Linked DNA regions of Homo sapiens: regions 1, 2, 3 and 4 are each linked to region 5. The links are contacts of gene promoters, found by promoter capture Hi-C in blood cells and fetal thymus (Javierre and others, 2016). All regions are on one chromosome and are shown on one strand. The core of a region is centred on a gene start or on the middle of the fragment in contact, and the rest is flanking DNA. Distances in the headings are between cores, read along the strand shown. Region 1 overlaps KLRC4-KLRK1 (KLRC4-KLRK1 readthrough). Region 2 overlaps ARHGDIB (Rho GDP dissociation inhibitor beta). Region 3 holds the start of CLEC2B (C-type lectin domain family 2 member B). Region 4 holds the start of MAGOHB (mago homolog B, exon junction complex subunit). Region 5 holds the start of CDKN1B (cyclin dependent kinase inhibitor 1B).

What was found. The method cuts DNA at HindIII sites, captures the fragments that hold promoters and counts their contacts. A CHiCAGO score of 5 or more calls a contact.
Region 1: a contact is called between a fragment that was not itself captured here and the fragment with the promoter of CDKN1B in region 5, in 1 of 17 cell types (total CD8 T cells). The highest score is 5.7, in total CD8 T cells.
Region 2: a contact is called between a fragment that was not itself captured here and the fragment with the promoter of CDKN1B in region 5, in 2 of 17 cell types (non-activated CD4 T cells and naive CD8 T cells). The highest score is 8.9, in non-activated CD4 T cells.
Region 3: a contact is called between the fragment with the promoter of CLEC2B here and the fragment with the promoter of CDKN1B in region 5, in 2 of 17 cell types (non-activated CD4 T cells and total CD4 T cells). The highest score is 8.8, in non-activated CD4 T cells.
Region 4: a contact is called between a fragment that was not itself captured here and the fragment with the promoter of CDKN1B in region 5, in 1 of 17 cell types (naive CD8 T cells). The highest score is 5.1, in naive CD8 T cells.

The regions. Positions count from the first base shown.
Region 1 is chr12:10,383,515-10,386,250 of GRCh38, reverse strand. All of the region lies in intron 8 of KLRC4-KLRK1 (KLRC4-KLRK1 readthrough), which reads left to right. All of the region lies in intron 3 of KLRK1 (killer cell lectin like receptor K1), which reads left to right. All of the region lies in intron 3 of KLRK1-AS1 (KLRK1 antisense RNA 1), which reads right to left. Among named protein-coding and RNA genes, the nearest start is that of KLRK1, 5.2 kb to the left of the region's middle. The HindIII fragment of the contact is 5,161 bases long and covers 1-2,736 here.
Region 2 is chr12:14,957,274-14,959,979 of GRCh38, reverse strand. The region is part of intron 1 of ARHGDIB (Rho GDP dissociation inhibitor beta); the gene reads left to right. Among named protein-coding and RNA genes, the nearest start is that of ARHGDIB, 3.0 kb to the left of the region's middle. RefSeq lists an enhancer at 1-36. The HindIII fragment of the contact is 2,551 bases long and covers 64-2,614 here.
Region 3 is chr12:9,868,104-9,870,803 of GRCh38, reverse strand. It overlaps CLEC2B (C-type lectin domain family 2 member B), which reads left to right and starts at 1,450. Exons shown (of 5, transcript NM_005127.3): 1 at 1,450-1,599. The HindIII fragment of the contact is 5,556 bases long and covers 1,336-2,700 here.
Region 4 is chr12:10,613,029-10,615,728 of GRCh38, reverse strand. MAGOHB (mago homolog B, exon junction complex subunit) reads left to right here and starts at 2,120. Exons shown (of 5, transcript NM_018048.5): 1 at 2,120-2,290. The coding sequence starts at 2,197. RefSeq lists enhancers at 1,306-2,183, 2,000-2,399, 2,184-2,700. The HindIII fragment of the contact is 670 bases long and covers 1,116-1,785 here.
Region 5 is chr12:12,715,918-12,718,617 of GRCh38, reverse strand. CDKN1B (cyclin dependent kinase inhibitor 1B) reads right to left here and starts at 1,250. Exons shown (of 3, transcript NM_004064.5): 1 at 304-1,250. The coding sequence starts at 778. It also overlaps a transcript of GPR19 not described here. RefSeq lists silencers at 684-872, 1,297-1,866 and enhancers at 1,047-1,146, 1,227-1,276. The HindIII fragment of the contact is 7,251 bases long and covers 1-2,700 here.

The DNA.
Region 1 (2,736 bases), core at 48-2,547, 2.3 Mb after region 5:
TCAACAATTATCATTGTGGGAATTTATCCCAGAGAGAGACTCAAAAATATGCACAGATGGGTATGAAATGTATCATTATTTCTCATAGCAAGACCTAAGAAACAATTTAAATATCCACTGGAAAAAAAAATTGACAGTCCGTCAAAAATTAGATCTGTCCAGAGTTGTCAGTGAAATACAATGCAGCTATTTATAAATTTGGTATCCTTATACGCCATGAGGACTAATCACCAGGATATTGTCTTAGGTAAAAAAAAAAAAAAAATTCATAGGATATTTTGTGTATTATAGTTTCTTTAAAATGTATTTTTAATATGTAGTTAAGGGGAACGGTAATTTTTGTTTATTTTTAGTTGGCATGTAATAATTATACATATTTATGGGATACAGTGATATTTCCATTCAACTATACAATGTCTAATGACCAAATCAAGGTAATTAGCACACCCATCACCTCAACATTTATCACTTCTTTGTGTTGGGAACATTCAAAACCTTCTCTTCTAGCTATCTGAAAATATACAATAAATTACTCTTAACAGTACTCTCCCTACAGTGCTATAGAACACTAGAAAAATCCCGCATGTAGCTGTAATTTTGTATTCATTAACCAACCTCTCCCAATCTTCTCCTCCCCCCTATTCTTTCTAGCCTTAAATAACCACAATTCTACTCTCTACTTCTGTGAGCTAAAAGTTTGTATCTCCTACATATGAGTGAGAACATGTGGTATTTATCTTTCCATGCCTGATTTACTCTACGTAACATTATGTACTTCTGACTCATCCATGTTGGTGCAAATAATAGGATTTCATTCTTTTCATTCTTTTTTTTATGACTGAATGGTATTCCTCTGTGTGTGTGTGTGTGTGTGTGTGTGTGTCTGTGTGTGCTTAGCTATTTATCTGTTAATGGACACAGGTTAATTCCATATCTTGGCTATTGTGAATAATGCTGCAATAAACATGGGGGTGCAGACGTTACTTCAATATACTGATTTCCTTTCCATTGGAGAAAGACCCAGATTGCTGAGTCATATGGTAGTTATATTTTTAGTTTTTTAAGGGACCTCCATACTGTTTCCATAATGGCTATACTAATTTACATTCCCACCAAAATTGTATAAACATTAGCCTTTCCCTGCATCCTCACTGTCATTTGTTATTTTTTGTCTTTTTAAATAATAGCTATTCTAACTAGGGTGAGATGATATTCATTGTGGTTTTGATTTTCATCTTCTTGATGATGAATGATGTTGAATTTCAAAAAATATATCTGTGGCTATTTGTATATCTTCTCAGAAATATCTATTCAGATCCTTTGCTCATTTTCAAATCAGTTTTTGTTGTTGCTGTTGAGTTGTTTGAATTCCTTGTATATTCTGGATATTGGTCTCTTGTTAGAGGAATAGTTTGCGAGTATTTTCTCTTATTCTACAAGTTGTCTCTTCACTCTGTCAATTGTTTCCTATGCAGTAGAGAAGTGTGTTAGTTTGATACAATCTCATTTGTTTCTTTTTGCTTTTGTTGCCTGTACTTTTGAATTCTTACCCATAAAATCTTTGCCTAGACTAATGTCCTGTGGTGTTTCTCTTATCTCTTCTAGTAGTGTTATAGATTCAGTTCTTATATTTAAGTCATTAATCCATTTTGAGTTGATTTTTGTATATGGTGTGAGATGAGGGTCTAATTTCATTCCTCTATGTGGATATCCAGTTTTTTCAGCTTCATTTATTGAAGAGGCTCTCCTTTCCCAGTGTATGTTATTGGTGACTTTCTGGAAAAATCAGTTGGCTATAATACATGGATTTATTCCTGGGTTGTCTATTCTGTTTTATTGGTCTAGGTGTCTATTTTTATATCAATGCCATACTGTTTTGGTTGTTGTAGTTTTGTCGTATATATTGAAGTCAGGTAACGTGATGCCACCAGTTTTCTTCATTTTTGTTCAAGATTGCTTTGGCTATTCAGTCTTTTGTGGTACCATATAAATTTTAAGATATTTTTCTATTTCTGTAGAGAATGTTACTGGTATCGTGTTAGGAATTGCACTGAATCTGTAGATTGCTTTGAGTCATATGATTACTTTAACAATATTCTTTCTGTCTATGAACATGAGATGTCTTTCCATTTTTTTGCATCCTCTTTGGTTTCATTCATCAGTATTTTACAGTTTTCATTGTAGAGGTCTTTCACTTGTGTGATTAAATTTATTCCAGGGTATTTTATTATTTGTAGGTATTACAAATGGAATTGACTTCTTGATTTCTTTTTCATCCAGTTTGTTATTGGTGTATAGAAACACTACTGATTTTTGTATGCAGATTTTTGATCCTGAAACTTTACTGAATTTGTTTATTTGTTCAAAGGCATGTTGTTTAATTTTCATGTATCTGTGCAGTTTCCAAAGTTCCTCGTTATCAATTTCTAGTTTTATTCCATTGTTGTCAGAAAATTTACTTGATATAATATTGACTTTTGGAAATGTTTTGAGACTTATCACCTAGCATATGGTCTGTCCTGATGAATGTTCCATGTGCTGATAAGAAGAATGTGTATTTTGCAGCAGTTGGATGAAATGTTCTGTACATTTAGTTAGGTTCATTAGGTCTATATTATAGTTTTACTCTGATGTTTCTTTTATGATTTTCTGCCTGAATGATCTGTCCATTGCTTAAAATGTGTTGTTGAACTCCCCTGCCCTTATTGTATTCATCTATTTCTCCCTTCAGATCTA
Region 2 (2,706 bases), core at 90-2,589, 2.2 Mb before region 5:
TGGCTTTGTGTTTTTTTAATTTGTAAGAATATATTCCCTCCCAAAGCAGATATAGCACAAGCTTAGTAACAAGAGCATCTTACTCTTTTGTGAGATGTGTGAAATTCTAAGAGACAGTTCTTTCTCCATCCATGCTTCACAGATGCAAAACCTGAGGACTAACTATGCTGTCACTGAACAGAAACTGGCAAGCATTTTTCAGGCCTCGACTGGAATTTGGTCCTTCCTTGCTTTGGAGAGCATGAGTTTGTCCCCTAGGGAAGTTAGCTCTGAGCAACATTAAGGTTCTGTTTTCAGTAGACACTCAGCACCACAAAGTCATTCTGAGGGAAAGATACGGGTCTGAGCTGATTTGGGAGAGCACAGTACATGACAAACATCAGCTAGCAGGAAAAGAGAAGCCCTGGGGAGTCGAAATTATGCAGATAGAAAAGGAGAACCAACATTCATTGAGTGCCTTCTATGTGTCAGGCCTGGTGATAAAAACTTTCAAATTTTGTTCCTGAGAAGAATGCAGAAGTGTTCAATAATTTGACTAAAATTACATACTGATACAAAAAGGATCAATAGCCACAATGCCTCTGAATTGCAATTCACAGGGCATGGTGGTGCGTGCCTGTGGTCCTACCTACTCAGGAGGCTCACGTGATCCTCCCGCCTCAACCTCCCGAGTAGCTGGGACTATAGGCGCGCATCACCACGCTGGCTAATTTTACCATTTTTAGTAGAGACGGGGTTTCTCCATGTTGCCAGGGCTGGTCTTGAATTCCTGGGCTCAAGCAATCCGCCTGCCTTGGCCTCCCAAAGTCCTGGGATTAAAGGCGTGAGCCACCATGCATGGCCTATTATTATTTTTTTGAGACAAGTCTCACTCTGTCACCCGAGCTGAAGTGCAGGGGCGTGAACGCAGCTCACTGCAGCCTCGACCTCCTGAGGCTCAGGTGATCTCCCACATTCTTTAGGAAGAATCACATGGAAGAAATTTTCTCCAATTCCATATTTTGAGAGTTCTTATTCCTGGTTTGTGTTATTGCTGCCCGGGATCCTGTATTCAAGGCTACACTGGCATACCCAGAGATGAGTCTCATGTTGCCCCTGAAACGTCAGCAACATTTATCTGTGCAATAAGCACATCCTGAATCATCCTGTGTTGTGTTACTCTCTGGTGTCCACAGCCAAAGAGTGAATTTTACCGCTGGTAAAAATTCACTTGGGCTTTCTTAAAGAGCCTAATAATCTTAGCACAAACGGTCATAAAAAAAATTCTCTCTCAATTCTGTCTAACTTTTCATGCTAATTTAAAACTTTTGTGAATATATTGAGATACTGAAGGCAATGGCTTCCTTAATGCACAGTTTTCTTTGAGAATTATTTAAAATAATATTTGTGAAGGTACTTGGTGGCATGACTTCACACGTTGGGCACTCAGCAAAGCTCACGGGATCTCTTTGAGTTCTCTCTCTTTGTGCATATGAATGTGGGTTAGAAAAACACACTAAAAAATGCACAGGCAAGAAATAATAAATTGTTTCTCTCACAAAGACAAATGGTAAGAAATTACGTTTCTAGTAATTTGTGCCCTTCTCTGGATTGATTACAATATTTATTGTCTCTTACAAAATAATCTTGTCTTTGGTTTTTCTCATCCAGTTTTGAAGTTTTCGTAGTCCTTCATGGGGCTGAGGTGGTAGAAAGCAGCACCGCAAAGTGGGGAGTATGGATTCCTCCATGTCACCAGGGACAGGGGCGGTGGGGAGAGGGTGGAATCCCGAACCAAGAAGGCTTCTGGTGTCCTGAGAGACAAATTTGCAATCCCGTAATACACCAAATTGCCAGGCAAGCAGCACAGCACATTCAAATCCTTGACTAGCTCTGAAATGTCAACAGTGTTTTAGAGATGGCCTGACTCTCCAGACCTGCACTAGACCCACAGCCCGATTTGGGGGAAGTCAGACATATCCTAGTCAGCAGGGAAAGTGGAGGTAGCAGGAGTTACAGAGAATGCTGATGCTCACATAGGAACTTCTCTGATAGAAATCCCCTACTTCTGGTATTTCCACTTTTCTCTCTCTCTTCCCTCTCTCTCTTTCTCCCTTCTCCCTCCTCTCTCTCTCCTCTTTCTCTCTCCCTCTTTCCCCTCTTCCTTCTCTCTCTCTCATCGCTATCTCTTCTACCTAATACATTAATATCCATGGCCTGTGTGTCTAGATGCATAATCCAGCACAATTTTGCAGATCCAGCTTTGGGCCGTGAGTTAAGTCTCTGTGGTATTTTGCTCCAGAGCCAGAGGGAATTCTCTTCATTAGCTGTGCCTGTGTTCACTGACATTTCTCATCATTCGCAGAGTGACCTCTGGCTTCAATGAAGACAGGGAGCAATAAATAAAACCTAAAATTAAATTGTTTACATGAAAGTTTTTAAAAGAAATATAATATAGTCTCATTTTAAGGTTGATTCAGTTTTTAAACAATCCTTTCAATTCCCCAGAACTTCTTATCTCTTTAATACTCCTCAAAGACAAAAATCTATTTTTAAGGAGGAAGGAGTGGGGACATAGCTCCCATCCAGGGGAAAGTATTTGGTGTGGAAACAGTTACCTAGCTTCAGTGAAGCTTTGCAACAAAGCAGACCACACTGGGGCAGGGAAGGAAGAAGAGGAAGGGAACAAATATTCACGGAACATCTATTCTTGACCAGTATAGTCCT
Region 3 (2,700 bases), core at 201-2,700, 2.8 Mb after region 5:
TGATATCCAAGAAGTGGAAAAAGCTCAATGTCATAATGGATACATTTTATTATAAAATAGATAAAAATATTTTATGTCTGTACAATGAAATACTACTCAGTAATAAAAAGAAATTAACTGCTGATCTGTGCAAAAACATGGATAAAACTCAAAAACATTATGCTCAGTGAAAGACATCAGACTTACAAGAATTGCCAACTGTATCATTCTGCTTAACAGGAATTTCTAAAACCAGCAAAGCTCATGTTTATTGACAGTAAGTTGGCTGCTGCCTGGCTTCAGGGGTGAGGATGAACTGCAAAGCAACAGCGGGGAACATTTCCCTGTGTTGAAAATGTTTTATATCTTAACTGTTGTATCTTGACTGTTTTCCTTTTTGGAACAAAACTAAATTTCACTCAACCATACTTGAGTAATCTCTATATTTTTCTATACATGCTTTTCTAATAGTTCTTTGGATACAATCTTTTGTTAACAACAAAGGTAGAATATATTCATTTCCTCATGAATTTTCTGTCTTTTTTTTCTGTCCAAAAATGAAAAGAGCAATTTTGTTATCTGTCCTTTCCTTCTGCCCAGAAATGATTAAACCTGTATTTCTTATTCTCTTCATATTTTCTTTGTTTTAATTCCTTTGTACTACAGTTTCTTCTCTATTCTCATTTGCTTTTCCTCTTCAAGTTTCTCTCTCAGAACAAATGCAGTGTTAATCCCGAAGCCGCTTGCGGGACACTGGCTTCTTCTCCTCAGTTTCCTCCCTAATATATTTGTTGAGGGGTAATACAAAATCACTGGGAAACTGATTAGAGCAGATTTGAAGACAAAATTGTGGCCTGGTAACTTAGCAAAAGCATAATGGTGTCATCTTGTATGCTGATGATAACGTTCTGGGCACTTTGTTACTTTCGTTTTCTTTTTTCCCTCTGTGTGTCTTTGTGTGTGTTTGTGTGTGTGCTCACACCCACACGTGTGACTTTGCACGCATTTGTCTTTGAGAGAGAGATAATAGTTTTTGTTTTTCTTTCAGTAGCCAAAGTTTAAACCATTGCTTTTTCTTTGATTCTATCGCTTTTAAGGTGATCTTTCTTAACACAGGATAAGAAAGCAGTAATGTCCTAAAGAATGCTGTTGAATTAATTAGTATCAGCCTCTCCTACAGTTCTGGAAGGATACGTGGTTAAGTACCACTCCTGGATGAATCAGAAAAACAGCCACTTGAGCAATTTCGTGTTCTGTGGTTCAGATGAGAATCCCAGTTGAGAAAGTAAGAAAATATGTGTTTATTCTTCAGCTTTAAATTGTTATATCACAAACTTCCTTCCTCCTTGGCAAGCTTTCTTTTTTGACGAGAAGAAAATTGTAATAAACAACAGTATGACTAATAGATAGTCACATGGTTACTTCCAGTTTGCAAAATGCTATTTATACTTTGAGTTACTCTTCAAAAGTGGTATACCTCTAGTTTGGAGCTGTGCTGTAAAAACAAGAGTAACATTTTTATATTAAAGTTAAATAAAGTTACAACTTTGAAGAGAGTTTCTGCAAGACATGACACAAAGCTGCTAGCAGAAAATCAAAACGCTGATTAAAAGAAGCACGGTAAGAACATTTTTGTTTGTTTAGAATGACCGTTATTTATTGAAATTGTGATGCAGAATGTTAAAGCCTTCGAGAAAAGAATTAAATTTTGTGGTTTCTTTTGTGAAACTAGAAAATTCCTTCTTATAACAAGATTGAGATTTGCATATGACTGTTTTGTCCTAATAAATTCAGACTTACTTTACATTATTTGAATTACAATGGAGAAGGATTAACCATGACTTAAAACTGCTCAAGATTTAGTTTCATTTTTACTAAGTATTTTATAAAACAAATACTTGAGAAGATGATAGATATGATCCAGATACTCATACAGTTCTCAGAATGCATACATAATATGATAAATTTAGCCAATAGTTCTAATATTTTTAAAGATTGCTTTATTGGATGGTGTAAAGATACTCCGGGCTTTAGGAGTACTTAACGGAAAGAATATATCCCTTTCCTACTCTTACTAAGGAATTGCTAGTACTCCGATATCCATGGAGATGTCTTTACCAACCCTAAGAAGGATAAGGAAAGAAAATGTTCTAAAAAATACACTATGAAACAACCTGGTAACATTGGATTTATTAAATAGCAAGTTCGGAATATATAAGATCCAAGCTACATCTTTGAGATTTCAACAGGGTTTATTTATGTCAAAATATTTGAAAGAGAAAAGGCTGAAACTAAATGCATTCAATACAACGATCTATGATTTAGAGATTTAGGGACTGTGATGAGCTTTAAGCATTTCCCGTTTAACTAAATGTCAACCTACCAGCGTATGCTACGGTCAAAAAAATTATTGCTGTGGTACAATAGAATGCACACTTTATCCTTCCTCCCGTATTTTAACCGGTTTTATAATTCTGCCTAAAGTTAGATAAAACAGGTTTGCGGGGAATGAGATCAATATTTGATGGTAGCATAAAATATCATTTTAATCAAAAGTTTTAAGAAGGCCTTCCAGCCACTAGTAAAACCAGTGTTATTTTCTACTTTCAATCAATTGTATAAATTTATACATTTGTATATAAATACATTATATAATACAATATTATATATCATATTACATATGAATATATTTTAAAAGTTACTGAATAATATATTCAGTAT
Region 4 (2,700 bases), core at 201-2,700, 2.1 Mb after region 5:
CTGGAACGGCTAGTCACCCTAGTGGTAAAACATGGTGCTTCCTGTTTCTTACGTACTTTCCAAAATGGTGGCCCATTGTAGGGACTGATTCATTTTTCTATATTAATAGTTATATAACTACTAATATGGACTCAAGGAAACGTGGCCCAATTTGCCTTTTTAGTCATTCTACTTGAACCTTATGCTCTAGCTATACCGAATTTCTTAGTGTTCCCCAAACATGAATTTTCACACCACTGTCTTTGCTCGGGTCATTTTCTGCCTGGAATGCTTTTTCATCCCACTGAACATACACAGAACTTACTTCTCAAGGTCCAATTCAAACACTTCCGTTGACAAGCCTTTTCCAATACTCTTTTTTCAAATTTCCCTACTCTGCAATAGAATGCTCTTGCTTCCTCTGCTGTACTACCGGCATGTTTTACACACTTTTTTTTTTTTAGACGAAGTTTCGCTCTTGTCACCCAGGCTGGAGTGCAACTGCGCGATCTCCGCCTCTCGGGTTCAAGCGATTCTCCTGCCTCAGCCTCCTGAGTAGCTAGGATTACAGGCACGTGCCACCAAACCTGGCTAATTTTTGTATTTTTAGTAAAGACAAGGTTTTGCCATGTTGGCCAGGCTGGTCTTGAACTCCTGACCTCGGGTGATTTGCCCCCTTTGGCCTCCCAAAGTGCTGGGATTACAGGCATGAGCCACTGCGCCCGGCCACATATAGGCTTTCTTTTCTTTTTCTTTTTTTTTTTTTTTTTTTTTTGAGACAGAGTTTCGCTCTTGTTGCCCAGGCTGGAATGCAGTGGCACGATCTCAGCTCACTGAAACCTCTGCCTCCAGGGTTCAAGCAATTCTCCTGCCTCAGCCTCCCGCGTATCTGGTATTACAGGCACGCGCCACCACGCCCAGCTAATTTTTTTGTATTTTTAATAGAGACGGGGTTTCACCATGCTGGCCAGGATGGCACATATATTCTTAATTATAGCAATTGCTCCCTTGTGCTGGTATTCGCCTTACGTGTTTGCTTTCTTTTCTAGACTACCAGATCAAATGGCTTATTTCTAGTTTCAAACTGTCACATAGGAAATGTTTGTTAAAACTAATGTTTTATAAAATTTAAAGCTTATTTTACATATTATCTCATTAGATCTCTCAAGAATTCTGTGAGCTTGGCAATGTAGATTGCTGTATATGCATTAGGCTGATGAACAAACAGGCTTAGAGATAGTCACTTGCCCGAGGTTAGTTAGCTGTTAAGTGTTGGGATTGAATCCCAGGTCTTCTCTCCACCACTTTCTACTAAAAATCACTGAAGGTTGTCAACCGACAGATAGGATTACTCTGTGTGTTGATAACAAAAGGGTGATCAATAATATCTGAAAAGGAAACTTTGTGTAAAAGTCTTTCCCTTACCTTAAAAACTACGCCACACTGGAGCATTCTTTCATTCCCCCAATTTAATTCTATCTGGCGAGAAACAATAATGGGCTAAACCATTATTGTATCGTAAGTCAAATTGCCAAAACTTCACAGGCTACTAAAAGTTAACCCTTATTGAATGAATTAAGAACCTTAGAAGTTCTGCTGTTAAAAAAAGCACGGTGACTGTCAGGGTTTTTCAGGTGTGGGGGGTGTGAGGGTTTTAAGAGTTGGATTCCTTTGACTTTGTCTCTATTATTATAGGCTTAGAGGTCCCGGGTAACTACCAATCGCTATCCAAAGGGAAAGCACCCTGTTAGAAATTAAGTAAGAAAAATAGTTTATATTCCCGGTCTGCCATTTCGATTCTAAGCTTTATCTTTATTTAGCTCACAGTTAAAGGGGGCATAGAGCCACACCCACCTCACAAACGCCGCAAGGATTGGGAGACCAGAAAAGTAAAAGTGACTTGCAAACCTTTAGCTCTAAGTCCATAAAAAAGACTATCATATGCTCACATTTCTAATCTTTGCTAGTATAATGTAATCTTTATTTTGAAAACAATGTGCCTCCATTCCTAGTAAAGCGAAAGTCACGGCGCTGCGACCCTCCCTTCAGCGCCTCCGGACTCTCACGCGATACTCGGCTTTCACGCTTTAGTCTAGGGCTGCACTGCAGGAGGAAGAGAAGCGCCTGTGGTGACGCACTTATTCCGCGCGATGACGTCACTGCAAGGCGCCGGGGGACACGTTGGCTGCGTTTTCGGCGGGCTTCCCGGGTACAAAAATGGCTGTGGCTAGCGATTTCTACCTGCGCTACTACGTAGGGCACAAGGGCAAGTTTGGGCACGAGTTTCTGGAGTTCGAATTTCGGCCGGACGGTGAGAAGAGGCCCACGGCACGCGGTGCTGGGAAAGGGGAGCGAGACCGAGAGGCCGGGTGGTGTGGAGGGTACAGGCGGCGGAGGCCACTGCTTCCCTCGAAGGAAATAGGAGCTTAAGAATAGAGGAGGCATAAGTTGGTTTTATAAATGAAAGAGAATTAATTGCAATAAATTAAAGCTAATCCTGTCACAAACTGAAAAGTTGAACCTACAGTAATCAGAATTCTGTAACAGTGCACCAGAAGGGACTCTAGATCGTCGCCCTGATTGAAAATGCTAGCACTTTTTTGAAAACACCCCCACCAGCGGGTGGTCCAGTGGATGAATAAAATCTTGTGGTGACCAGTACCTTTTTTTCATTTAGGCTGTGTGTTTTCTTTGAAGGGGAGGAGCCCAACGTGTTAACAA
Region 5 (2,700 bases), core at 1-2,500:
CCCTAGCCAGGAGGCGGACCGTTGATAAACATCCCAACTTTGTCACATACCTAGGAGTTGCTAGTGAGAGGGACCGCGATGTATTAAGTTAGGGAAATTATCGGATCTTACCATCTCCAGTTTCTGACTTAAAAGTCACAAACAGACAAGCAGTGGGCCAGGTAGCACTGAACACCTAAGACCAATAAAGTTAGCTCTCCCAAAGCTAAATCAGAATACGCCGAAAAGCAAGCTAAGGTTAACACCCTCCAGCAGGCAAAGCGGGGCCCCAAACACATTCTATGGTTGGGAAAGGGTCATTACCGTCGGTTGCAGGTCGCTTCCTTATTCCTGCGCATTGCTCCGCTAACCCCGTCTGGCTGTCCGACGGATCAGTCTTTGGGTCCACCAAATGCGTGTCCTCAGAGTTAGCCGGAGCCCCAATTAAAGGCGCCGCCGGGCGGCTCCCGCTGACATCCTGGCTCTCCTGCGCCGGCACCTTGCAGGCACCTTTGGGGGGCCGCGGGGGTCTGTAGTAGAACTCGGGCAAGCTGCCCTTCTCCACCTCTTGCCACTCGTACTTGCCCTCTAGGGGTTTGTGATTCTGAAAATCGAAATTCCACTTGCGCTGGCTCGCCTCTTCCATGTCTCTGCAGTGCTTCTCCAAGTCCCGGGTTAACTCTTCGTGGTCCACCGGGCCGAAGAGGTTCCTGCAGGCCGAGGGCTTGGGGTGCTCCGCCTGCCTGGCGTCCATCCGCTCCAGGCTAGGGCTCCCGTTAGACACTCGCACGTTTGACATCTTTCTCCCGGGTCTGCACGACCGCCTCTCTCGCACTCTCAAAAAAACAAAACCGAACAAAACAAAGCGCCCCTACGCAGCCCGAACCCCTCTCGGAAGCCCAGCGACTGCCCTCGGAGCCAAAAGACACAGACCCCGACGAGCCACGGCCCGAGCTCTAGGAGCGCGCAGGGGCTGCGGGGAAGCCCCGGCCCGGCCGCCGAGTCTCCGCTGATCAAATGGACTGGCGAGCGGGAGGGCGGAGAGGAGAGGGGACCAGGCAAGCGGAGAGGGTGGCAAAGCCCGTCCGAGTCTGGGCGGGTGCAAGCCCGCGGGTCCCGCGAACCCAGCCGCTCTCCAAACCTTGCCGGCGTCGGAGTCGCAGAGCCGTGAGCAAGCGGGGACAGGGGAGGGGGAGAAAAACACCCCGAAAAGACGAGCCCCCTTTTTTTAGTGGCCCAATATGGCGGTGGAAGGGAGGCTGACGAAGAAGAAAATGATTGACACGGCGAGTCTATTTAAACAGAGGAGGAGATCCATTGGTTGCGGCGGCGGGAGCCGCCCCGCCGAGGCTGGCGAGCGCGGCCTTAAGGTGGCCCCGGCGCGGTTCCGCCACCTCCCCTCGTTCCCGAGCGCGCCGCCTCCCCGAGCGCCGCCGGGAGATTGGCTGGTCGCGTGACTGCTGGAGGGGTACTGCTGCCAACAAACCTGCTCTGGCTGGCCTCGGAGAAATTAAAATTAAGACAAACAAACTAGCCAAACGGCCGGGAACCTGGGGCGGGGCCTGAGGTTCGGGGCCCGGCGCTGCGTTGGCGGGTTCGCCGCGGCGCCTAAGCCCCGACCTCCCTCCCGCTCCTCGCCCGGGAAGCCGGGACCTGGACCAGAGGACCGCGAAGGTCGCCGGCAGCTCGCTAGGAGCCGGGGTGGCGAGCTGCCCCCAGCTCGGCCCTCCCCAGCGGCCCCCACCTCGTGGTCTGCGGGGGAGGCCGCGGAGCGTTTGCTGGGGGGGCTGGGCGCCCCCCCGCCGGCGTGCCTTTGCTGGGGGCTGGTGGAGGCAGTGGGCAATGGTTCGCTCAGCCTTAACCCAGAAGTTTCTGCCATCCCTGGGGAGGCTGGGGGCCTAGGGAAGAAGCCAAAGCGAACGTCTTTCTTTTAGAAATTAGCCAGGAGTAGACGCGGCACTTATCATGAACTCAAGCTCTCCCTCAATGAAAATAAGAAAGGAACTCAAGATTAAAAAAAAAAAACAAAAAACTCTAGTCTCTCAAGTCCCTTAATAAACTTTGTAGCTGTCTCAGACACGTTTAGTTTTGAAAAACGAGGGTACACCCCTGGCCCAGGATCTTCCTTCCCAAGCACAGTTAAGGCCATGGACATTGGCTGCGTGTGGGAACTCGTCCCTTTCTACTTTTCTGTTCTTTCCCGGGATTGTAGCAGTTTCCTCTACCTGAGTCCAGCCGCCAAATACAACAGCTCCTTCCTTCCTCCACCCTTCTCTCTCACCAGATTTCACTGCTCCAACAAACTCAGAACAATATTCAGATGCTAGTGAATGCTTTCAGAGGGCTGAAGGGTGAAAATACTCCCCTCGGGGTCAAACTCCAGATGATGAAATGATTTTTAAAACACCACAACCATGTCCTAACGTCCGATACTAGTATTCCAGCGTTTCTCTTCTCCCTTTTGCAGCTGGAAATTTCTCTCTCAGTGTGGGCTTGAGCACCGTGGTGGAAGGTAAAGTAGGACGATGAGCAGGGCTGCCCTGAGACAAAGCTCAGTGGATCTTCAACTGCCTCCCCACCCCCATGCCCGGTACCCATCATCTTGGTTTGAGCCAAAGTTAATGCATTTTACTGGAAACCAACCTTCCGTTCTAATATTACACAGCAGCAAAGTTTTCTTAAGCACCTATGCTACAGATGAGCTTGATGTGTAGCTTGTTT